Linked DNA regions of Homo sapiens: regions 2, 3, 4, 5 and 6 are each linked to region 1. The links are contacts of gene promoters, found by promoter capture Hi-C in blood cells and fetal thymus (Javierre and others, 2016). All regions are on one chromosome and are shown on one strand. The core of a region is centred on a gene start or on the middle of the fragment in contact, and the rest is flanking DNA. Distances in the headings are between cores, read along the strand shown.

The links. The method cuts DNA at HindIII sites, captures the fragments that hold promoters and counts their contacts. A CHiCAGO score of 5 or more calls a contact.
Region 2: the fragment with the promoter of OR10AG1 here is called in contact with the fragment with the promoter of OR5T2 in region 1 in 2 of 17 cell types (megakaryocytes and non-activated CD4 T cells); the score reaches 5.2 in megakaryocytes.
Region 3: the fragment with the promoter of OR5D14 here is called in contact with the fragment with the promoter of OR5T2 in region 1 in 6 of 17 cell types (erythroblasts, total CD4 T cells, neutrophils and 3 more); the score reaches 7.9 in erythroblasts.
Region 4: the fragment with the promoter of OR5AP2 here is called in contact with the fragment with the promoter of OR5T2 in region 1 in 4 of 17 cell types (M2 macrophages, neutrophils, fetal thymus and 1 more); the score reaches 10.2 in M2 macrophages.
Region 5: a contact is called between the fragment with the promoter of OR5M11 here and the fragment with the promoter of OR5T2 in region 1, in 9 of 17 cell types (M2 macrophages, neutrophils, endothelial precursors and 6 more). The highest score is 10.0, in M2 macrophages.
Region 6: a contact is called between the fragment with the promoter of OR5I1 here and the fragment with the promoter of OR5T2 in region 1, in 4 of 17 cell types (M1 macrophages, activated CD4 T cells, endothelial precursors and 1 more). The highest score is 6.8, in M1 macrophages.

The regions. Positions count from the first base shown.
Region 1 is chr11:56,232,361-56,236,562 of GRCh38, reverse strand. It overlaps OR5T2 (olfactory receptor family 5 subfamily T member 2), which reads left to right and starts at 2,308. Exons shown (of 2, transcript NM_001004746.4): 1 at 2,308-2,386; 2 at 3,299-4,202. The coding sequence starts at 3,501. The HindIII fragment of the contact is 5,726 bases long and covers 1-4,202 here.
Region 2 is chr11:55,967,522-55,971,904 of GRCh38, reverse strand. OR10AG1 (olfactory receptor family 10 subfamily AG member 1) reads left to right here and starts at 1,960. Exons shown (of 2, transcript NM_001005491.2): 1 at 1,960-2,013; 2 at 3,398-4,383. The coding sequence starts at 1,998. The coding sequence ends at 4,347. The HindIII fragment of the contact is 3,009 bases long and covers 966-3,974 here.
Region 3 is chr11:55,793,525-55,797,594 of GRCh38, reverse strand. It overlaps OR5D14 (olfactory receptor family 5 subfamily D member 14), which reads right to left and starts at 2,039. Exons shown (of 1, transcript NM_001004735.1): 1 at 1,095-2,039. The coding sequence starts at 2,039. The coding sequence ends at 1,095. The HindIII fragment of the contact is 1,368 bases long and covers 1,970-3,337 here.
Region 4 is chr11:56,640,857-56,645,560 of GRCh38, reverse strand. OR5AP2 (olfactory receptor family 5 subfamily AP member 2) reads left to right here and starts at 3,122. Exons shown (of 1, transcript NM_001002925.1): 1 at 3,122-4,072. The coding sequence starts at 3,122. The coding sequence ends at 4,072. The HindIII fragment of the contact is 8,469 bases long and covers 1-4,343 here.
Region 5 is chr11:56,541,029-56,545,339 of GRCh38, reverse strand. OR5M11 (olfactory receptor family 5 subfamily M member 11) reads left to right here and starts at 2,083. Exons shown (of 1, transcript NM_001005245.1): 1 at 2,083-3,000. The coding sequence starts at 2,083. The coding sequence ends at 3,000. The HindIII fragment of the contact is 1,332 bases long and covers 1,308-2,639 here.
Region 6 is chr11:55,934,036-55,938,098 of GRCh38, reverse strand. It overlaps OR5I1 (olfactory receptor family 5 subfamily I member 1), which reads left to right and starts at 1,699. Exons shown (of 1, transcript NM_006637.1): 1 at 1,699-2,643. The coding sequence starts at 1,699. The coding sequence ends at 2,643. The HindIII fragment of the contact is 3,136 bases long and covers 1,130-4,063 here.

The sequences.
Region 1 (4,202 bases), core at 1,059-3,558:
ATCCAGCTATCAGATATACAAATATTTGAAAAGAATCTCAAAATGCCAATCTTAGGTTCTACAATAGCTATGTTATCTGCAGGAATAATTGGGGAAGCTGCAAATCTTGTGACTTCCAGGAAAAAATGGCTGGTAATCATTTTACTAGGCCTATATCTTAGCAGAACACAGACTCCTCTCATCCTCTTAACTTGGTGCCTTTGATTAGTTTTACAAAGGTGGTTTAGTTTTTGCAAAGGACTATTATCATTTAAACTATAAACTAAATTTCTCCCGAAGTTATTTGGTCCATGCCCAGAGATGAGCAAAGACAGACAGCCTGTGATGATAGAAGCAAGAAGAAGTCAGTCATGGCAGATTTCTCTTACTGTCATAATTTTGCGAAGGTGGTTTCAGAATTTCAGGATTGTATAGTAATCCTGTTTTTAATGTTTCAAGGAACTTCCATACTATTTTCAATCATGGCTGCACTGTTTTATATTCTTGTCAACAGTACACCAGGGTTCCAATTTCTCCACATTCTTATCAATACTTTTTTTTTTTAAATAATGGCCATAACAGGTGTGTGATGATATCTCATTGTGGTTTTGATCTGCAATAATTAAAATCTCCATATTACCCAAAGGGGTCTTCAGATTTAATGCATTTCCTGCAAAATCCTAGTGCTGGGTTTTACAGAAATAGAAAAAACATCGTAAAAATTATGTGCAATTACAAAAGACTTCAAATAGCCAAAGGAATCTTGAGAAAGAAAAACAAAGCTAGAGGTATTATACTTTTTTATTTCAATGATATTACAAAACTACAGTAATTAAATAGCATGGGACTGGAATAAGGACAGATATATAGACCAACGGAACAGAATAGGGAGCCTGGAAACAATCCCACATGTATATAGTCAAATGATCTTTCACAAGTGTGCCAAGAATACACAATGGGAAATTAAATTGGACCCTTGTCTTATACCATATAAAATAACCAACCCAAAATGGATTAAAAATTTAAACATAAAACCTGAAACTACAATTTCTAGAAGAAAACATAAGGAAAAACTTTAGGACCTTCAGCTTGGCAGTAACTTGTTGGATGTAACATAAAAATACAAGCAATGACATAAAAAGCCAAGTAACAAAACCAAAATTAGACAAGTAGGGCTACGTCAAAGTCAAAATCTTCTGCACAATGAAGAAAACCATCAGCCAAACAAAAAATATTTGTAAATGATATATCTAATAGGGGATTAATATCAAAATATATAAATTCAATAGCCACAATAACAATAATCTTATTTTAAAACTGGCAAAGGACTTGAATACATTTTTTTTCCAAAGAAGACATACAAATGGCCTTCAGATGTATGAAAAGATGTTCAACATCAGTAGTCATCAGGGAAATTCAAATCTGACACATTTTAAACAGAAGCCAAAGAACTCTATTGATTCAATAAGTAGGAGCATGCAGTGCCTTATTCCGGAATCATTTACTTTTTATTATTAAGTAAATCATCATGGTGCTATTTTGAAACAGAAGATAATTGGGGCATATTCCCCTTGGGACATCTCCTTGGATTTCATCAACAGTCAATTACAAAGATATAAACAATCTAAGTTAGCCATATTCATAGAATACCTAAATCTGCATTTGCTGTTCCACAGGTAAGAGAAAATTTCAGATAATTTGAAGAATATTTCGGCAGCTAGAACCTACAATATCAAGAATAACTATGTTTTTTTTTACTAAACTTTTTAGCTGCTAAACACCAAGAACTAAACACTTCAGTTCTGGACTATTACATATGTGAATCAAGTGTATTCATCAAAATATGATTTATTTAGAGTTATGCCTAAGAATTAAAATCCAACACTTACTAGAAAACAATAAAAAATAGAAAATATTGTATTTGTACTTATAGAGATAAATAAGAGTGCTCCTAATAGAGTATATGCTTGTATTTTTCTTATAGATAAAGATAGTTCAAAGGTCATGAATTTACCAATAAATATCAACAAAGGGCAAAAAAACATTTGACTTATTCATTTATCTGGGGTCTTGTATTTTGAAGTAATAAGGAAAACAATCAATACTTATTTTAAATTTATTTTCTGGCTTTATAATCTAGAAGTCACTTCAGATTGCTACTTATTTTATGTTTCTCTAGATTTAATGGCTTAAAAAATACAAATACATCGAGAATCATGTTTTGCTTTACCTTTATTTCCCTGAGGTCAGCAGAGGGGTAAGAGGAAGAGTGTTCCAGTTGCAGAATGAAGCCATTTATGAGGCCATGAAAAAATGCAAAAATTTCATGTACAATGAGAGAAACCTGGGATTGAATCTTGGCTCTGGAAATTGTTAGCTATGAAAGTTGCTATAAAGGTGAAATAAGGTAATGTACAAGAAATGTCTGTTCTTGCAGCAAGTGCTAAATAAATGCCTGTTATTTAGCAAACTTAGTGTTTCGTTATTACATTCACGATATTTAAAGTTTTCTCCCTTCCATTAAAATTTGTTTCATAAAAATAGATTTGCATTAATTTAAAAAGTTGATTCTATATTATTAAATCTTCAAGAATCATAGTGATTTTCTCTTTATAACTCTGAATCTTTGACTATGTGCTAATATTAACTTAATTTTTACCCAATATAACTTATTTTGGCATCTAGTAGAAATGCCTGTCTCACAAGAAATTTGGTTGAAGTATCTTATTTGCACAAAGCAAAATTAAGACAATTGTAATGTAGAAAATGGAATCATGGTAATTTGCATGTTTATTTTTGGCATAAAATGATCAAGTAATTCACAAAACTTCTTCATTCTCCAAAGAATAATTCAGAGACATTTGAATGAGCAGATGAAAAAAATCATAACTGTTCATTGGATTTAATCTTGATAGAATGTAGAACCAACTTAATTCAGCATATTCTATAATCAAAATTATTTTACATATTATATTTTATTAATGCAATTTTCCTTCAATATTTACTCCAATCTTGTGAACAAACTATTAATGTTCTCATTCTATAGACAAGTAGATATAGCAAATCATTTTGCACAATTGCTACAAGTTCTAAAATTCTGGTATTGTATTCCAATGCTCTGTCCCCTGATACAGTCTCTTGTGTATTTGGATGCCCAAAGATTGTTTAAGCCACTCATTTTTGTGTGTTTTAATATTATTTAATATATAAACAGCTTAATACAATTCAGTGGTAAATTAACCAGTAGACCTGATGATTTTAGAAACAGAATAAGTCCAGCCAACTAATGAACGTCCATTTCTTCCATTTGATTCTGCAGTGAGTGGCATGAACACATGGCTGACCAGTTTGTCACTGTCTTCTGATTCACTACTAGAGAATTATGCACTGCTGAATATATGTCGTACAGTATATACAAGAGCACAGTTAACATCCCCTTGAGTCATGGTGTTGTTCATTCTTTTTGTCATAATATGAACTGTAACTTTATGCATATCTTCAAGTTTGTTCTAGATTTCAACATGAAGAATGTCACTGAAGTTACCTTATTTGTACTGAAGGGCTTCACAGACAATCTTGAACTGCAGACTATCTTCTTCTTCCTGTTTCTAGCAATCTACCTCTTCACTCTCATGGGAAATTTAGGACTGATTTTAGTGGTCATTAGGGATTCCCAGCTCCACAAACCCATGTACTATTTTCTGAGTATGTTGTCTTCTGTGGATGCCTGCTATTCCTCAGTTATTACCCCAAATATGTTAGTAGATTTTACGACAAAGAATAAAGTCATTTCATTCCTTGGATGTGTAGCACAGGTGTTTCTTGCTTGTAGTTTTGGAACCACAGAATGCTTTCTCTTGGCTGCAATGGCTTATGATCGCTATGTAGCCATCTACAACCCTCTCCTGTATTCAGTGAGCATGTCACCCAGAGTCTACATGCCACTCATCAATGCTTCCTATGTTGCTGGCATTTTACATGCTACTATACATACAGTGGCTACATTTAGCCTATCCTTCTGTGGAGCCAATGAAATTAGGCGTGTCTTTTGTGATATCCCTCCTCTCCTTGCTATTTCTTATTCTGACACTCACACAAACCAGCTTCTACTCTTCTACTTTGTGGGCTCTATCGAGCTGGTCACTATCCTGATTGTTCTGATCTCCTATGGTTTGATTCTGTTGGCCATTCTGAAGATGTATTCTGCTGAAGGGAGGAGAAAA
Region 2 (4,383 bases), core at 711-3,210, 260 kb after region 1:
TTTTCTTTATCTAGTCTACCACTGATGGACATATAGATTGATTCCATGTCTATGCTATTGAGAATAGTGCTGCAATGAATGTATGTGTGCATGCATCTTTATAATGGAATGATTTCTATTCCTTTGGATCTAGAGCCAGTAATGTGATTATGGGGTAGAATGGCAGTTCTGTTTTTACCTCTTTCAGGAATCGTCACACTGCTTTCCACAATGGTTGAACTAATTTACACTCCCATCAAGACACTGTAAGTGTTGCCTCTTCACTGCAACCTCACCAGCATCTGTTATTTTTTGACTTTTTAATAATAGTGATTTTGACTGGTGTGAGATGGTATCTATCTCATTGTGGTTTTGATTTGCATTTCTCTAATGATCACTGGTTAGTGATGGAAAGTTTGATTTGCATTTCTCTAATGATCACTAGTTAGTGACCATTAGACCCGCTCAGGGAGGGACGGGCCCACAAACGCTCCGAGGACAACGGCTCTGCAGCAGGGCCAAAGGTGCACTCACTCCGGGAGCAGTGGCACACAGGATGTATGGGCACACTCACAGTGGCAGGGAAGGGAAGGCAATGTCCTCTGGCACACACACTCACTGGCAAAGGGATGCTGGTATTAGTGTTTTTATAATTAGCATAAATAATAGGAGAGAGACATAAATAGGGGGTGGCTATGGGTGAGTGAGTGCAGGCAAAGTGGCCCGAGAGGCTGCAGTGCAGGGAGGGTGCTGGTGGGCTGGCCTGTGTCTGCACAGGCTACTCTGCTGGATCAGTCTGCTGGTCAGCCGGGGGTCCACCAGCACAGGAGCTATGATGTGGCCCCCAGGAGGTACCTGGCTGGGGGCCAAGCTGGGACCCAGGAGAGGCCAGCAAACTGAGTGGTGCTGAAGTTAGAATAGCCTCATGTAGTGGGTGAGACTGCCGTGCAGAATTCAGGTCCCATAGTTCCCATAGGGCTAAAGCTTCCTACGGGAGCAGGTCAAGCCTGGGGGGATGGGCATCCCTGGCCATGCTCCACTACAGACACTTTCACACTAAACCCTCTGGATTCCACACAGGCTGGAGTTCTGCCCCTACCACTTGTCTAAGCATCTCTCCCTGCCAGTTCAAGTGTTACTTGTGGTCCAGGGGTTTTCTCCTGCTGGGATTCGGAGGCTCATGGAAAGAGAGGGTTGCTCCTTGCCCATTCAACTCATGCTTTTGCAGGAGTCACTGGGGGCCAGGAATGCTTCCTGTGTGTGGTACCCCCATGCAGAATTCCTTTCCTTCTGAAGATTTGCTAGGAGTGCACCAATCTTCCTGATGTCCTGGTCCCTCGTGGGCGATGTTCCTCTTGACTGCGTCTAGTGGGACGTCTTGGAGTGGTATATTACATTTTCAATCAGCTGGATACATTTCCCTGGTGCCTTATAGACAACACAGAATGAAATAAATGTATAGATAGATTTTCTCAGCAGAATTAACATGTTTTAATATCCACAAAAAAAGTTAACCTAGGAACAGAGGGTTCCACATCTGAAAAAGAATCTCACCGTTCAATATGTCGAAGACATCAAGCATATCATGTTCGTGTGATTAAACACATGATATATTTTTTAAAGGTCTAGTTAATTTGGATCTGGATAAATTATTGGAATAGAAGTAAGGCAGACAAATCCACACTAAGTATTAGGGGCCTCAAATACACAGTTGGAAAATTTTTAACTTTTTCCTGAAAGTAATACTAGACAACTAAATGGTATTTAATTAACTCCCCTCATGAGGAGATGAAGAGGAGGATAAGTTTACTTAAAGTAGTTTTGAAAAATGAATCAGAATGATTGACAAACAGAAGCAGCCTTCTAGAAATTAAACTGATACTCAAGAGAAGACACATCCCAGGTTGAGTCTGACTATTCCTATATAAGAGCTGTTGCTGTTTGAAACAAGCAAGCGTATTGCAAAATTACAGTTCCCGAGAAAAGGAAGAGCTTAAAAAGTCTGTACAGACAGCTTCATGCAAATCCCTAAAGGTAAGCCATAATTGGGTTGACAGACTATTTTATTTAAGAATAGTTACAAGTTTGTGGATAGAAATGCAACTAATAAAACAGAAAAGCATGAAATTTTGAGACCTTTATCTGAAAATTAATTATTTAACATTTAAATCATGTATCTCTTCACTACAAAGTTAAATAAAATTAGATGTCCAATAATGGTAAAATTGCATTAGTGATGAAAAGTCATTTAAGGCAATTTTGAAAACTAGTACTAATAGAAATGTATAAATATGAGATAGTATTTGTCTGATCACTTTCATTTATCAACGTATTAAGTCAAATGCATTGGCTGACCGGGCTAAAATAGGTATAGGTGCAGCAGATTTGAAGACACAGAAAAAAAGAATTTGTTTAGAAAGTTGGAGAACAAACGTTAAGCAAGTGTAATGGGAATTGACAAGCAGTGATTTCCTCATATTGGATGACATTGACATGAAGTGAAGCAAGACAGTGTGTTTTTGTTTTGTTTTGTTTAATTTTTTGGTCCCATTTATATGCTCTGGCCACTTAGATGGCCAGAGTAAATGTTAGCTGGGTTTAATCAAAGAATTTTACTTTAATAAGGCAACAGGATGAAGGGAAAATAGAGAGAAGGAATTGTATTTGGTTGAAAGGAACTGTATTTGGTTATATGACAATGGAGAAATTCACTTAGATAAAAAAAAGAAATGTAAAAAAAATTGTGATGAATTTCTACATCTTGATTAAGTTATAATTTAATTACTATTTAGCATTCACTGTATTCAGGGCAATAACAGGGGAAGTCAATAAACTGCCTACTGGTATTAGTGTTTTTATATTTAGCATAAATAATAGGAGAGAGACATGAAGTAGAGCAACAATAATGCATGTATTTAGTCTCTCAGTAACCAAGAAATTGTTTAAGATAATTGATTCTCACTGGTGCATAAAAGGAAAAGTTTAAAATTCATTTTGAGTATGAATTAATCGTAATATTCAAGGGCAACATTTTGAATTAAAAAAACTGGAATATGACTACCAATACAAAGAAAAATGATATTCTCAGATGAAATAGTAAAAGCCTACACTATAACTCTACTCTTAAGTGTGAAATAATAAGATGTTATTCCTCCATAATATTTTCTAAACAACAATGCATGCTTCTCAATGCCTCTGGTTGCATTATATCCCAGTATAATAAAATATATTGAGGTTTCATTTCTTAAATTGATTTTAATGCTAAATCAGTTTATTATCTAGAAACAGAGCAAGTACTGGTGAAAATGACTTAAGAGCTTAAGTAAGTATATTCCTGTATCTCATTTAGTTAACCCAAGAGGAAAATATTGTTCAAAATATGGATGAATTAACTGTCTTGAATTTGCTATATCTGCAGATGGAGAGCAAACTAAAAGAGAAAAATCAAATGTGACTACAATAATGGAATTTGTTCTTTTGGGGTTTTCTGATATTCCCAATCTCCACTGGATGCTTTTTAGTATATTTTTACTTATGTATTTGATGATCCTGATGTGCAATGGCATCATAATACTACTAATAAAAATTCACCCCGCTCTCCAGACTCCCATGTATTTTTTTCTTAGCAATTTTTCCCTTTTGGAAATCTGTTATGTAACAATCATTATCCCAAGAATGCTCATGGACATTTGGACTCAGAAAGGAAATATTTCTTTGTTTGCTTGTGCTACACAAATGTGTTTTTTTCTTATGCTTGGAGGCACGGAGTGTCTCCTTCTGACAGTGATGGCCTATGACCGCTACGTGGCTATTTGTAAGCCTTTGCAGTATCCTCTAGTGATGAACCACAAAGTCTGCATTCAGCTGATAATAGCTTCCTGGACCATCACAATTCCTGTAGTAATTGGGGAAACATGCCAAATTTTCCTTTTGCCCTTTTGCGGAACTAACACAATTAATCATTTCTTTTGTGACATCCCGCCAATACTCAAGCTTGCTTGTGGAAACATATTTGTGAATGAGATAACAGTCCATGTAGTAGCGGTGGTGTTTATCACGGTGCCATTTCTGTTGATTGTTGTCTCTTATGGCAAAATTATCTCCAACATTTTGAAATTGTCATCAGCCAGAGGAAAGGCTAAAGCCTTCTCCACCTGCTCATCTCACCTAATAGTTGTAATCTTATTCTTTGGAGCAGGTACTATCACTTATTTACAGCCCAAACCACATCAGTTTCAAAGGATGGGGAAACTGATTTCTCTTTTCTACACCATTCTGATTCCAACTTTGAATCCTATTATATATACCCTGAGGAACAAAGATATCATGGTGGCATTGAGAAAATTACTAGCTAAGTTATTAACATGAGATGAAGACTTGAAATTACAGAAATAATTTCTTTAT
Region 3 (4,070 bases), core at 790-3,289, 440 kb after region 1:
AGCCTGGCAACAGAGTGAGACTGTCTCAAAAAAAAAAAAAAAGCAAAAATTCTTCATAGATGATTCTGACTACTGTACATTGCAGTCCATTGAGAAGCACATGGTAACTGGTTGATGATAACTGTTTGTCCAACTTTTAGTGATGATCATTCTGATCTCTGAATTCAGGTTGTGTCAACTTAGTTACTTCATCTTAAAATTATCCACAAACTTTTTGCCTAATGATTATTATGTCTGTTGAAATCATTACCTTTATTCATTTTTTAAATGTGGAGTTCTACAGTTGTGATTGTCCAATTTCATCCTTGTTTATGCTTTTATTTCTTCTGAAATTCACCTCATTAATCAGTAGGTGATGCTGACATACTATTCATATAGGAAAAATAGAATAAATATATATATTATTTAATTACTTATTTTCAGAGTAATGAATTGGTGCCCTAATATCCATTGATATTAAACAATGGCTTATTTATTTTTTTCTTTTTCAGTACCTAGATTTAAATCTATATGAGGACTTTAAATCAATTGTAATCAATATCCATTTTTATGTTTAAAAAGTTTTTTCTGACCATAAACCAGCATCAGCCATTTCAAATTGCTTCCTATATCTCTTTGAGACAATCTGATTAGCTGCTGATAGTATTCTATCTTTCTGGAGCATTAAATTGCCCAAAGCTCATCTTGCCTATTTTCCACCCTAGACTTCAAATTAGCCATTTCTCCAAGAAGCCCTAGTTTTGTTCCTAGGGGAAAGGTTTCTTTTTAGAGAAAATTTGGAGAATGTTGCTTGAATTTGTATAGTATTTGTTACCAAATATTTGTGTTTATTTAGTCATTCATATAAAAGTTAGAAATAATTTTGAAATATGGTTTCTCATTGTTTTCAGATTAAATGTTTATTTTCATTCATTTTGTATAAACTGGACTAAACTTGTAGAGATTTCTGAACCTGATAATACTGGGAATGCTATATCAATTCACATTTGACAATTCCATAAAAACCTCATATAAATATATGCTCTAGGCTTTAGAAACATTGTAGCCTCTGTTTGGGTTGTTCATTTGGATTGAAAACAACTTTTGAGACTGGTTCAGTGAAATGGAACTTGTGTATGTATTAACTTCCAGAAAGCATCCTTCACGTCTTTATTCCTTAGGCTGTAGATCAGAGGGTTCAGCATGGGGTTGACAACTGTGTAAAATACAGAGGCCACTTTGACTGTTTGCCGAGAGTTTTTGGAGTTGGGTACACAGTAAAGGAAAAGGATGGTCCCATGGAAGATGGTGATAGAAGTCAGGTGGGAGGCCCAGGTGGAGAAGGCTTTGTGGCGCCCACTAACAGAACGGATTTTTAGTACAGTCACAAAAATGAAAACATAGGAAGTGAGGATGATCAGTAGTGTACACATCTCATTGAAGGTGGCGAAGCTGAAAAGCAGCAGGTGGGGGATGAGTATATCAGAGCCAGACACAGAGATGAGAGCAGTATACTCACAAAAGAAGTGGTTGATTACATTAGGTCCAGAGAAGTTTAACCGGAGAGCATAACAAAGGAGTACCAAGGGGCCAAACATGCCCCAGAGATATGACCCAGCCACCAGCAGGGCACAGAGCCTCTGTGACATGGCCACTGTATAAAGCAGAGGATTGCAGATGGCCACAAAGCGGTCATAGGCCATCACTGCCAGCAAGAAAGACTCTGTCACCACAGCAGTGCAGGACAGGAAGTACTGCATCATGCAGCTAAAGTAGAAGATGCTTTTATCTGCCATTACCAAGTTCTCAAGCAGCTTGGGAGTGACAATGGAAGAGTAACAAAAATCAACAAAAGAGAGGTGACTAAGGAAAAAGTACATAGGAGTGTGAAATTTGGGGTTAATCTTGATTATTATGATCATCCCAAGGTTTCCTACCACTGTGATAACATACATGAGCAGAAACACAAGGAAGAGAGGAATCTGAAGCTTTGGGTAATCTGTGAAACCTAAAAGGGCAAAGGTGGGCTCCATGCTCAGATTCCTTAAAACCATCATCATAATTCCTTTTAATGGAAGGGTTGAAGAGAATTGTTCCTGCCAAAGCAAAATATGGGGTGAGTGATAATTATGTCATGACTTTCTTTGATTAAAAGGAAAAAAGGAGAAGGAATAGTTACTGGTCCTAGTTTTGTCCAAGAAGAACATACCTCATGCAGGCAGCTGTTATGTCTAAAACAAACCAAGCCAAGTCTTTGGAGTGTCTTTCCATTTTTATTACACTTTCTGTTTTCATACATATATATATGTGTGAATATATATGTGTATGTGTATGTGTGTGTATATGTGTACAGTAGTATACATGTCTACACATTAACTAGTAGCATGACATGCACATAACTTATAGAAAATGTTTATACATAAATATATAAACTAATAAAGATTCTGTGGAAAATGTAAAATATTTACATCAAACAACAACATGCATTGCTACTGTATTTGTTTATATAGACAAATTGATTAAAATATTCAGAATATATTTCTATTCTAAGGATAAAGGAAAATATTGTAGAAATCTGGAAAAAGAGCACACTAATTCCACTTTTTACCAACTTTTATTCTAGAAAGGCTACTTCTCTCATTGAATATCTTAGTTGCTGAGGAGTTGACAAGGACAATGGCCTACTTTTGACCTCTTGGTGGAATGGGCATTTTATTGGGGTTTATGACTTAAGGGTCAGCATCTACTATAGCTCAGGTATTGCATAAGTATCTTATAAGAGTCTCAAGATTTATCAGGTGAAAGTTCCCTTAAGCCTGACTAGTTTTCAATCTTATAAAAATTTACACACTAATTTAAGATGAATATAAAGGAAATATGGATAAATATCCATTTCCAAGTAGCAAGTTTATACTATTCATCATGAGATAATTTTCAATGGATATAAGGCTAAATATTTTCATGAGTGTTGACCTCATTTTTTAATATTATTGGGCACAGAATTGAATAACACAGTGATTTAACATTTAAAAAATCAAAGGCCCCATTTGCCGTATCAGGAAGACCCTATTTTCAGTTTCATAGAAAGCCTGAATACACTTACCTGCTACATACAAAGAAACAGGCTGCCACCCTCCTGTCTCTTCAGACAGTGTATACCTGAGGCACCAAGACTCTTTCATTTAACTTCATAGCCCTAGGGACTCAAACTCTGGAGAATCACTAACAACTTACTCTTTACAAGCATCAAAACAGGCAATTAAGGCAAATACCAAGTCTCTTGTGTCACATTTAGTGACTGGAATTTCCTTGAAACTACTCAGAAAAAAAAATGCAGCATGAAGTTAACTATCAAGCTTTGCTTGCATGTAATTCAAATTACAATAAAACTTTAAATACTTGCCTCATCTGTTCCAAAATTCAGTGCACCTCTTAGTGAGATATAATCTATCCTGCATGCATCCTGGGTATAAATATGCAGCAGCCAATAGCACTCCTATTCCTGAAAACACAAGTAAATTTCATAATCAAGTGCTACAGATGTCCGTGGCCCATACCTTGCTGTATTGCTTCTTCTTGCTCAGCCTGAATTTGTGTCTCATGGGGCATTCCCTATGGCAACCTGAATGTGGAAGAAAGCATAGGAGCCTCATTTTCAGATGATTCCCCATGATATGCTGGCCCACACAAAAGTGAATAACTGCAGGACTGTAATCCTACCTTAAGGTGGCCCTGAAAAGCAACAGTTAAAGACAAATATTCTAGTATTTACAAATTCAAAAAGTATGCTTGGAACATGAGGAACACCTTTTGAAACTTAGTTACAGGGCAGGTTCTTTGGCAATACCTTAGAAGGATGGAGTAATAGCCTCCTGAATATATTATATGCTTGAAATCTGCAACCAACATACATTGCTGTTCCTCCAATAATTTGTGAGACCTAGAACTTTCCCATAAGAGAAACCATGAGCTCTAAGGGTTTAGAGGTTTTATCTCCCAAGTGTGTCATGCTTCCACTAGAGAACACAGTGATTGATTCATTAAATTGGAATTGTGACTTGTTTGACCAAGAAAATATTGCAGGAGTGACG
Region 4 (4,704 bases), core at 1,873-4,372, 410 kb before region 1:
AGAAGGGGAGACAGAAGAATGTTATTTATACCATCAGATGGAAAACAAATAATATTTTGCTATCTTGCTGATTAATATATGTGAGTCCTAAGAAAGACAATTTTCATCAACTCTAATTATATTTTCTCTTTAGGATACATGACATGTTTATTTAACTAAATGTATTTTAAAGTATTAATAAATCTTTGAGAATCACGATATCAAGCTCTTTGTCTATCAGTGCTCACATCTGTTATTGACAGAGCTTTTCTAAACGACCTCAAATGTTAAGAGAATGAAAGTTACATTGGCTGGACCTACATTTAGACATTATTAGGCTAACTTTGAGAGCCTGGAGAGGCTTCGGGCAAGTTAGTCTTTTATACCTTACATTTCCCATCTGCAAAAAGGAGATGATAAATGCCTATTACGTAGAATTTAAATAAAATAATGCAGGCAAAACAGTTAATAAAGTGTTTGTAGAGCATAAGAAATCCTCAACAGATTTTTGCACATGTCAATACTTAACGTTTTACTCATCATTACTTACGTTGTATGTTTAGCACATATAAGACATTTTATTCTGTGCAATATTTCTGTTAATACTCAGAGAGACTTTCTGTTTGAGAAGGAGAGAAGAAAGATCTATTCCTTTTTTTTTTCATTTCTTCTAAAGATGCTGTTCTTTGAAGTTCAGACAGCAAGATTGCTTCAAGAAAGAGGACCTAGGCTGTGCGCCTATGCCAGTGAAATACAGACAGAGGCATTGTCACATAATTTAGCATCAAGAGGCCTACATTCTAGCTCAGGATTCACCACTGATTGGCTGAGAAACCCCCACACTTTGCTGGCCTCATCTAACAAAAGACTATATTACTTATACTCTTGGGATATTACCTGATAATTTCTTTCACTGATTTGTGGTAAGGCTTATATAAGATAATGGGTGCAATGACACTTTTCAAAATTGTTATGGAATTCTTTCAAAATGTCAGCTTTAATTATTGATTAGGGCATTGAGTCCCTATCTCAATGACAATTAGGTGGAGCCCAGCATAAATAGCTGCTTCTGTGTATGGCACTGTCTGTGATAATAGGACCAGTTGCTGCCCACTGTTTCCCTCACTGTTTTCAGAAACTTCTTTATCTTCAATGCTGGCAAGGGTACTGGGTCACTTTGACCCCGTTTGTGTGTGTGTTTTTTCTTTTTTTTTTTTTTGAGACAGAGTCTTGCTCTGTCACCCAGGCTGGAGTGCAGTGGCGCAATCTCGGCTCACTGCAAGCTCCGCCTCCTGGATTCACGCCATTCTCCTGCCTCAGCCTCCTGAGTAGCTGGGACTACAGGCGCCTGCCACCACGCCTGGCTAATTTTTTGTATTTTTAGTAGAGACAGGGTTTCACCGTGTTAGCCAGGATGGTTTCGATTTCCTGACCTCGTGATCCGCCCGCCTCGGCCTCCCAAAGTGCTGGGATTACAGGTGTGAGCCACCGTGCCCGGCCGACCCCATGTTTTAATTTAAACAGTATCAAATAACTTTTTTCTGTGAGTAGCAAAGGATATAACTCTGTCTTACCTTCTGAGCTATATTTTGACAGTTAGCCTAGTAAGTTTAAACTTTTGTTTAATAATCTGAGATCATGGAAGGGGTGGAGGATTTGCGTTAAATTGGAGGAGAATTCCGCTGGTGGTGTTTACATTTTGATTTGGAAGATCTAGTTTGGGCATCTATTCTGAATTTTCTTTTTTATTTCTTTTACTTTTCTTATCCTATGTTTGTCTTCATTACACCTTGCAAAGGGTGACTCTTATTTCCATTTTGATTACTTGGTATTAAATTATTCCCTTGATTAAGTATGGTGGCTGAAAAATTGCATGTGCTACTTCTGATGTTTTCTGGTTCTCTTGAGAACTTGTGAATGTGAGTATTAGAGATTTTCACTGGCTTGGCTACTTCTGCCATTTTTATCGGGGATGCCTACTCATTCTTACAATCTGATTCTCTAAATATTGGAATGAATTGTGGAAAATTACTATTTAACTGACCCTATTCTGTTCTCTGTAGATGTTTATTATGGAAAATCAGAGTGGGGTTCGAACTGTACTGGCTGTGTGGGAATATTCTCTATTTTCTTCTTTGGCCAGGCATTTTTAAGCTCTTCCTCTACCCCAAGAGATTCTGCTGTTTTTCTTTCTTTCTTTCTTTTCTCTTTCTTTCCTTCTCTCTTTCTTTCTTTCCTTTCTTTCTTTTTTCCTTCCTTCCTTCCTTCCTTCCTTCCTTCCTTCCTTCCTTCCTTCCTTCCTTCTCTCTCTCCTTCCTTCCTTCTTTCTTTCTTTCTTTGTTTCCTTCTTTCTTTCTTTCTCTTTTTTTTTTTTTTTTGGCACCGTCTCACTCTACTGCACAGGCTGGAGTGGTGCAGTGGTGCAAACCCAGCTCAGTGCAGCCTCAAACTCCTGGGGTCAAGCAATCCTCCCACCTCAGCCTCCTGAGTAGCTGAGACCACAGGGATGAGCCACCACACATAGCTTTTTTTTTTTTTTTTTTTAAATATTGCAGAGAGGAGATTTTGCCACATTGCCCAGGCTGGTCTTTAACTCTTGAGCTCAAGTGATCTGCCTTGCCTTGGTCTCTCAAAGTACTGGGATTACAGTTGTAAGCCACCAGGCCCAGCCCAACTATTTTTCTTGTCTGGCACTATAGATTAATTTTATTAACTTTCAATATTTTTATTCATTCTATTAGTACTGAGGAGGAATTGTAAGTGTCCTGAATTCATTCTATCATCCTTCTCCAGAAGTTGTGTCTGGAGGGTATGTCAGTATATATAAATTAATTTATTTATCACAAGTAATTATGACAGTCACATCTTAAGAATAAGTTATTTTAATTATTCAATAAAGAGTTAACTGTAGGAATGACCATAGTTAATACACACTAAATCACTTGCTTCAGTCATTAGTAGACAGCACATCTAGTACTACAAGTCTTTTGATTTGGCATCAAATCCAACATACCTTTTATTATGCTTTTCACTTTTTGCTCTTCTGTTAGAAGTTGTTTCACTAAAAATATATTATAGCTCCATCATGTATTCATCTGACTAAATTCCACTGTGCATCTTCTTTCTTATTGCAGCTCAAATGATGAGACTTATGAAAGAGGTTCGAGGCAGAAATCAAACAGAAGTAACAGAATTTCTCCTCTTAGGACTTTCCGACAATCCAGATCTACAAGGAGTCCTCTTTGCATTGTTTCTGTTGATCTATATGGCAAACATGGTGGGCAATTTGGGGATGATTGTATTGATTAAGATTGATCTCTGTCTCCACACCCCCATGTATTTCTTTCTCAGTAGCCTCTCTTTTGTAGATGCCTCTTACTCTTCTTCCGTCACTCCCAAGATGCTGGTGAACCTCATGGCTGAGAATAAGGCCATTTCTTTTCATGGATGTGCTGCCCAGTTCTACTTCTTTGGCTCCTTCCTGGGGACTGAGTGCTTCCTGTTGGCCATGATGGCATATGACCGCTATGCAGCCATTTGGAACCCCCTGCTCTACCCAGTTCTCGTGTCTGGGAGAATTTGCTTTTTGCTAATAGCTACCTCCTTCTTAGCAGGTTGTGGAAATGCAGCCATACATACAGGGATGACTTTTAGGTTGTCCTTTTGTGGTTCTAATAGGATCAACCATTTCTACTGTGACACCCCGCCACTGCTCAAACTCTCTTGCTCTGATACCCACTTCAATGGCATTGTGATCATGGCATTCTCAAGTTTTATTGTCATCAGCTGTGTTATGATTGTCCTCATTTCCTACCTGTGTATCTTCATTGCCGTCTTGAAGATGCCTTCGTTAGAGGGCAGGCACAAAGCCTTCTCCACCTGTGCCTCTTACCTCATGGCTGTCACCATATTCTTTGGAACAATCCTCTTCATGTACTTGCGCCCTACATCTAGCTACTCAATGGAGCAAGACAAGGTTGTCTCTGTCTTTTATACAGTAATAATCCCTGTGCTAAATCCCCTCATCTATAGTTTAAAAAATAAGGATGTAAAAAAGGCCCTAAAGAAGATCTTATGGAAACACATCTTGTAGAGCCATGTTACCCATCATTTGTTACGTAGAAGAAAATACATTTTCATGTTAACTGTATTCTCTGATTGTTTAAGCTGTTTCTCTGTGTTAAAGTAGATAATTTAAAATGAAGTATACTTTTTAATATCCTAGTATCTCATATATATATACACACACACACACGGGTCCCTTTGATGCACCAATACACTAGATGAAGGTTGGGACTGGAAAAAGTATCAAAACACTTGGAATTGGCTAATCTGGACTTAAGTTTTAATTTAAATATTAAGCTTATCTCAGTCTGAGTTTTATTATACAAACATTGGTGTCTTTGGGTTCTGGGCAAACAAACTGAGACAGAGAGATATTTTTAGGCAGAAAGTTTATCAGAGTGTTCTCACAAACAATATATAGTGAGGGGAGCAGGATTGGACAGAAGGAGTTGAATTGTGACGAAGACTGAGCCACTGTTACATGGCGTTCTGCAGAGATGTCCTTCAGAGATGTCCCAAATTAAGAAAAAAGGAACAAGTATTTGTACCTCCACAATAGCCAATTTTTGGACATGATCACCCACTGAGAGGGGGTAATATTATCTTGGACAAGGCAATTCCCTTCAGCAGGGGAAATTCCTGGAGTGTAGGTCAGCTATC
Region 5 (4,311 bases), core at 834-3,333, 310 kb before region 1:
GGTCTTCCTTGACTTTCCTTTCCCCAAAACTGTATTTCCTTTATTTTTCTCCACAACAGTTATTTGAATATTATTTATTTACTTGAAATAATAGCTCTCTCTGTCCACTAGAATGGGAAAACCAAAAAAAGCAGAAATTTTTGAAAGGTTTGTTCGCTTCTGCATCTATAGTGCCCAATCACACAAAATATTGAGTATCAGTAAATACTTGTTTCATGAATATCTATTTTGATGCCCAAAATGACATGAGAAGAGGAAAGATAAATATTATTATTTCCATTTACACATGGGAAAACACAGTGATTCATTCAGTTGCAAAGCTTTTAAATTACTGAAGTAACTCTGTAATCCAGGGCTCCTAACCAGCTCCTAACATCAAGATATGTCATAGCTTCTACTTGATATTTCTTAGATATATCACATACAGGTACTCAAGGGCACAAGTCAGTCACATAGTAGAACATGACTAAGTGTAAGGAGAATGTGTCTGGCACAATCCTGTTTATCATGGTGCACTATGTAAGAATGCCATGACTATCTGTGTCCCCAGAAGTTCCTTATCATCATATATCTCAAGGCCTTCCAGGTCTATACATACAATTTTATGAAACAGTTTAGCTTTAGAAAGGTGATATGTATTGCAGCAGCAGCTAATAAAGGAAGTTTTTAAAATACATAATTTTCAGTTCTTACCTCAGATTCTCAGATTGTATGCACTAGTAGTGTGACCTCGGTTCAATTATTTAACCTTTTTGTACGTTGCTTTTCTCAATAGTAACAGCAAGACAGAGTTTTGATTATAGGCATTCTAAAACTTACAGTAAAATAAATGAGGTGACTCATTTTGAGATGAGACAAGAATTGAGAAGCCTGTAATAAAAATTTCAAGTATGAAAGAATGGGCAAAAATTAAAAACTTCTCGAAAGAAAGGAAAATGTGAATTAGCAAAGATTCTGATGTGAAGAGAGGTAAAAAGCCAAAAGGATTTGTAATACCTCTTGTTAGATACAAGTTGTGATTAAAAGATTAAATACCAACTCTGAAAATATTAATTTATTTTCTTTCTAAACACATTAAGTCATTGCTCTAAACATCCTCAAGATACTATATGAAAATTTATTTTATTTCACAGTTCTTTGTTCATTTATTTGGCATATGTTTATTGAGCCATTCTGACTGTGCATTTTGAGCTATGATCTTGGAACACTTGCATTAGAATCCTACAGATAATCATTAGAGATGAAGATTCCAGTACCCCACATAAGAATTTCTGCAAAAACCTGTGATATGGGCTAATAAACAAGCTTCCCAAGAATTGCTTCTACACTAAGTTTCAATAATCACTTAATTCTCCTGAGAACATGACATCACGCAAGGCTACATGGAGATAAATCTGTGAGTAAAAATTGCAAGTCATTCATTCTTACATGCTCTCCTTTTTGCATTTTAAGAAAATTTAGTATAAAAATATGTGTTGAGAAGTATAATTAAAAAATGAACTTCACTTTGTCCCTGCTCTCAACACCATTATGTGATGAGAAAGTATATACTTTATAATGATACAATGGGGGCTAAATAATAAATTAGAGAAATATAGAATACTCTGGAAATAAAGAAGAGAGAATTCAGTGACACGTATTAGGAGAAATGGATGAGAAATGCTTCACAAAGAAGTGGCCTTTAAAGTGGGTCATGTAGCATGAATAGAATTAGGTTTTAAAAAGTACAGGAAGATAGAAGAGATGTAGCTCAGTCATATAGATAGATAGATAGATAGATAGATAGATAGATGATGGATAGATAGATACAGGTGTAGGTATAGATATATCTATAGGTGTAGAGAAAGAATATATTAGTAATGTAATGCCTAGGCAAATGATATAATGACATTGTAGACTTACAAAATTATAGTAAGTCTACCATAATTACCAAAACCAGTTTATGGTAGTACCCAGAAATAGATAACTTTCGATGATATATGAAGATGTGGAGAAAAACTAATTCAAATGAACATTAACATGGTATGTGCATTTGTTTATATTGGCTTTATTTCCATAGCTTGAAGAGCAAACTGTCAGGAAATGTCCAACACAAATGGCAGTGCAATCACAGAATTCATTTTACTTGGGCTCACAGATTGCCCGGAACTCCAGTCTCTGCTTTTTGTGCTGTTTCTGGTTGTTTACCTCGTCACCCTGCTAGGCAACCTGGGCATGATAATGTTAATGAGACTGGACTCTCGCCTTCACACGCCCATGTACTTCTTCCTCACTAACTTAGCCTTTGTGGATTTGTGCTATACATCAAATGCAACCCCGCAGATGTCGACTAATATCGTATCTGAGAAGACCATTTCCTTTGCTGGTTGCTTTACACAGTGCTACATTTTCATTGCCCTTCTACTCACTGAGTTTTACATGCTGGCAGCAATGGCCTATGACCGCTATGTGGCCATATATGACCCTCTGCGCTACAGTGTGAAAACGTCCAGGAGAGTTTGCATCTGCTTGGCCACATTTCCCTATGTCTATGGCTTCTCAGATGGACTCTTCCAGGCCATCCTGACCTTCCGCCTGACCTTCTGTAGATCCAGTGTCATCAACCACTTCTACTGTGCTGACCCGCCGCTCATTAAGCTTTCTTGTTCTGATACTTATGTCAAAGAGCATGCCATGTTCATATCTGCTGGCTTCAACCTCTCCAGCTCCCTCACCATCGTCTTGGTGTCCTATGCCTTCATTCTTGCTGCCATCCTCCGGATCAAATCAGCAGAGGGAAGGCACAAGGCATTCTCCACCTGTGGTTCCCATATGATGGCTGTCACCCTGTTTTATGGGACTCTCTTTTGCATGTATATAAGACCACCAACAGATAAGACTGTTGAGGAATCTAAAATAATAGCTGTCTTTTACACCTTTGTGAGTCCGGTACTTAATCCATTGATCTACAGTCTGAGGAATAAAGATGTGAAGCAGGCCTTGAAGAATGTCCTGAGATGAAATATTGTCATGACCATGGTGATGCCTTTGTTTCCTAATAAACATTAAATCGAAATCTTTGGCTCACATGTCCTAGCGTTCTGATGGTGAGTTTTAATATTCTCTGTGAGTCTATGTTGAGTGTCTCAGCTAAAAAGCTCATGCTGGGTAAAAATGAGATTTTTCTAGGCTTTGCTCCTCCACATATATTCCATGAATCAGCAGCATGAGCTCTTCCTTGGAGGTTGTTACACGTACAGAATCAAAGTCTGCACCTCAGGTGCACTGTATTTAAATATGTGTTTTATCCAAACTCCTAGATGATTGATAAGCACACTGAATTTTGAGGAGCACTGCTGTGGGTGAAACGTGGCATGCCCTGGAACACTGTTGTGCTCTTTTTGTTTACAATGGCAAACAAAATAAATGTGCTCCCAGCCCAATTTCTTGAATGTATTCTATTCTTATTCTCGCCTGCTGCTTCAGCAGAGATGTCTTTAAGAAACCCATTCTTCTGCACTCCAAGAAATCCATTCTTCTGTACTCCTTTCCTGACTTGCTGTGGTAGACCAGAAACTAGGGGCCATGGTGATGGCTTCTGGTTTTTATAAGTGCTCTTACATAGTGAAGAGTGGCAATGGAAAAAGAGGGGAAGAGAATGATTGTACTTTTCTTAAACTTGAGTTTATGGATCCAGCTCTCTGAGTTACATAAACCCACCTTCCCATTCTGAGCCTCCAGTGTATGGAGGTCACTTTCTGTTTCGCCTGATTTTGAAAAATTTAAGCAGGCTGATCTGAGAATAAGGACTAAAATTAAAATGGGAAATGAAAGAACCGAGTAAACAATAGGTCATACGATAGAGTATCCACCTTGCTTTGAATATTCCTTCTATTTGTAATTAAGTTTAGGTAAGTAATGTTAATTTTTTGTTTTCCTTAGCACTGGCCTGTTTATATGTGTCCAAGGAAGTAAGGATTTCTTCCACAGGAAGAGAAGACATTGCTCTGGCATCTTCAAGAAACTTTAGAAAGTAGAAAGAATTCCTCTTTAGACATTATGCTAAAATGAATTATTTAAGGAACAAGTAAAAAATATATTTTTTTAAGATAGAGTTTCACTCTGTTGCCCAGGTTGGAGAACAGTGGCATGATCATATTAATAACTTCCTCCAACTCCTAGGCTCAAGTGACCCTCCCGCCTGAGCCTCCCTAGTAGCTGGGACCACAGGTGTGTGCTACCACACTCGGCTAATTTTTAAATTTTTTTGTAGATCTGATATCTGTCTATATTGCCCAGGAAGGTCTTAAACTCCTGGGCTCAAGTGGCTCT
Region 6 (4,063 bases), core at 450-2,949, 300 kb after region 1:
TCTAGTCATAATCTAAGAATAAAATGGCAGCGTGGCAATCAAAACTAATTTTTGATGTTATCTACTGTATGTCAGTCTCCCTAAAGAATGACACATGGAAAGATAAGTAGGTAGATAAAGGGACAGAAAGGGGGGGCAGAACATTTTCCCTATTTAATCCATACAGAAACACTATGAGATATTTATTATCATTGTTGTAGTATAGATTAGGATAATTTATATTAAGTGGCACAAGGTCACACAGCCCCCATGCAGCCAAGATGGGCATCTAATCAAATTCCTCCTAAATCGAAGTGATGTCTTATATTGTCTAAATACCTTGACTATTTTCAAACAAGCAAAATGAGAATAACCACTGTCCTGCTGTAGTGCTGCATCTCATTCACACGCTTTGAGGTGATAACATAAGGCAGCACTTTGAGCACGTGATTAACCCTTCTGATTATCAATAGGCTTCTCAGTGTTTATGTCATTGGGTAGTTTTATTGCTTACATGAGATAAATAAATTGTCTTTAGCACTGTCATTGTCATAATATCTATTATGTAAATGAGGCAGTGACTCAAATATTTTTAATTCCCATCTTGGCCCTCTCAACATGAACTTTAGAGATTGATGCTTTGCTTGCTTTTTTTTGTTGTTGTTTTGTTTTTTACGTATTTCCAAGTCTATCCTTCATGGTCAAAATCAAATTATTTGTACTTCAAAGTCAAGTTAAAAATTTTTATAATTCTGTAAGTATTTTGAGACCTCAGAAGCAGTGTTTAACAGATTTTTCTGACTCAACACTTTGTATTATACTACCATAACAATAAATGCAACAATTGTTCTTTACTTATAAAATTTAATCAGTGATGATGCCATATATAGTAATGTTATTTAATTGCAAGTTAACATATAACTAAATGTTTTGCTGACTGTACTTGGTCAGTCCACTAATGTTTAATGAGCATTTCCAGGAAGCCAAGGAGTTCGATAAATGCCAGAAGTATTGAAACAAGTAGTTAACTAATTTTATCAGCTTAGTTTAGTATGTGAACAGGGTTTATGGAATTACACTAAGCTCTTTTCTGTCAAAAATATCCTCAGAGCTGGTATTTACTGACATTTGTTTTTATTTCGCTAAAGCTTCTGCTTTACAGTAAAAAAAAAATTAGCCGGCATATTTCATCACACCACTCTATTTACTCAGTCAAGAGACACAGCATACCGGTATCTATCAAATCCTGAAAACAAGAAGCAGATGTTCTAAAATTCTTATTCAAAGGAACACTCTATAAGTCAGTCCATTTTTAATAATATACATATTTTCTTTACTTAATGTGATCATCAGTCTGTTCATTAATTTATTACTTTTTTAATACTCTGGGCCAGTAATTGTTTAATATTTTGGGTGCAAAATGGTAAGCCAAATCAGACATGATCCATGCACATAGGAAGTCAACTGTTCAATGGAAGAAATAGTAATCAAATAAAATATAACCTGCAACCATGAAATATGATATTACTAAATTCTGAAATATATTTCTCAGAGTTTATAGTTCAAAAAAGTTTGAGCTTGCTTTCTTTATCTTATTGCCATTTATTTATTTTTAAACAATAAAATAACTTTATAATTACATCTAATTATTTTTCTTTTTTCATCATTATAGCATTGTAGGGTATTAGAAATTCTCATAAAAGGAAAACAACACAGAAGATGGAATTTACAGATAGAAACTACACGTTGGTCACTGAGTTTATTCTATTAGGTTTTCCAACTCGCCCTGAACTGCAGATTGTCCTGTTCCTCATGTTTCTGACATTGTATGCTATAATTCTGATAGGGAACATTGGATTGATGCTGTTGATCAGGATTGATCCTCACCTTCAAACCCCCATGTATTTTTTCCTTAGCAACCTATCATTTGTAGACCTTTGCTATTTCTCAGACATTGTTCCCAAAATGCTGGTCAATTTCCTCTCGGAGAACAAATCTATTTCCTATTATGGGTGTGCCCTGCAGTTTTATTTTTTCTGTACTTTTGCAGATACAGAATCCTTCATCCTGGCCGCCATGGCCTATGATCGCTATGTCGCCATCTGTAACCCTTTATTGTACACAGTTGTGATGTCTAGGGGCATCTGTATGCGGTTGATTGTCTTGTCATACCTTGGAGGCAACATGAGTTCCCTGGTTCACACATCCTTTGCCTTTATTCTGAAATATTGTGACAAAAATGTTATTAATCATTTTTTCTGTGACCTCCCTCCCCTGCTTAAACTATCCTGCACTGACACAACAATTAATGAGTGGCTCCTCTCCACATACGGCAGCTCAGTGGAAATCATTTGTTTTATCATCATCATCATCTCCTACTTTTTCATTCTTCTCTCAGTCTTAAAGATCCGCTCTTTCAGTGGGAGGAAGAAGACCTTTTCTACATGCGCCTCTCACCTGACTTCAGTGACGATCTACCAAGGGACTCTCCTCTTTATTTACTCACGGCCCAGCTACCTGTATTCTCCAAACACTGATAAAATTATCTCAGTGTTCTACACCATTTTCATTCCAGTGCTGAATCCGTTGATTTATAGTTTGAGAAATAAAGATGTAAAGGATGCAGCTGAGAAAGTTCTAAGATCAAAGGTAGATTCTTCATGAGATAAAGCATCTCAAGATACATCTAATTTCTCAATCACATACTGTAATTGGGAACTTACAACAACCTTACCTGTACACACACACAACCTCTCACACTAGGGATTTTATCAAGCACTTTGTTTAATGCAGCCAAATGAATTTCATAGTCCTAAAATATTTTTAAAATCATTTAAAAGTTTCAAAGTTCCTGCTAAATGCTAGTTATACTACTTTTCAGTTATTACTAGCTTGAGATTTATGCTAAAATCAATTTCATCAAGCCATCTTAAGGGATATAGTAAATATTTCAGAAAAGTATGCATGCATGTACATGTGCGTATCTATCTGTAGAATATCTCAGTTATAAGTGTAGATTACTGGATAACTGGATAAGAAAATAAGTCAGATTGCTTTGATTTATATGCCAGATCTATACTTGGCTAGTGAGTGGCATATTGAATGAGTTGCTTAATTTTTCTATGCCTCATTTATCTGTAAAATGGGATGAATATTGCACATATGCTATTGATTGTTTGATGGTGAACAGAGTTAATACAGTTAAGAGCTGAGAATAGTGCCTGGACATTATATACACTTACATGTTTGTTATAAGATATGTTTTTATAATATCTCACACTAATTAAAATGCATGTAATAAAATAAGATGATAGAGGCTAGAATGTTAGAAAAGCAATCATAAAAAGCCAAATAATATTTTTTAAAATGCAGGTGATAACATGTTGATAACTTTCTACATCCAATGTATCATAAAGCAATTTGGAAACATTTTCTTAGTGGCTTGAGCAATATAGGTTAATTGCAATGCAAAATATTTGTTTTACTATCTCTTGTTTTTAAATACACCAATGTGTTACTGAATGTGAGGAACGTTCTTTGCTGGAATCTCAGAAAAAGAATACTATCTCTAATTTATTACACTATCGTAATTGTATCCTCATAGGGAGATCAATCCAGTACTGTGGTAGAAAACCATGCATGAAATGTGTGTTTGAAAATTCTAATTGAAGGATGTGTAGAAGTATGTGTATTATTACAAAATGTATTTCTGTAACTAATATTGTGTGCTGCAAATCATTATTATGTATGATAACTGTTTACAAGCTATGAAATGGAAATATGAAAGTTTACAGTTATGCAAGCATGTATCATTTTATTTCATTTCACAGATATTGTTTTTTTCTTCACAAATTAAAAGTTCAGGACCACACTGTGTTAAGCAAGTCTACTGGCACCAGTTTTCCAACATTATGTTCTCATATCATGTCTCTGTGTCACATTTTGGTAATTCTTACAATGTCTCAATCTTTACATTATTATTTTATCTATTGTGAAGATCTGTGATCAGTGATCTTTGATGTTACTATTATCATTATTTAGGGGCACAATGGACTGTACCCATAAAAGACAGTGAACTTAATTG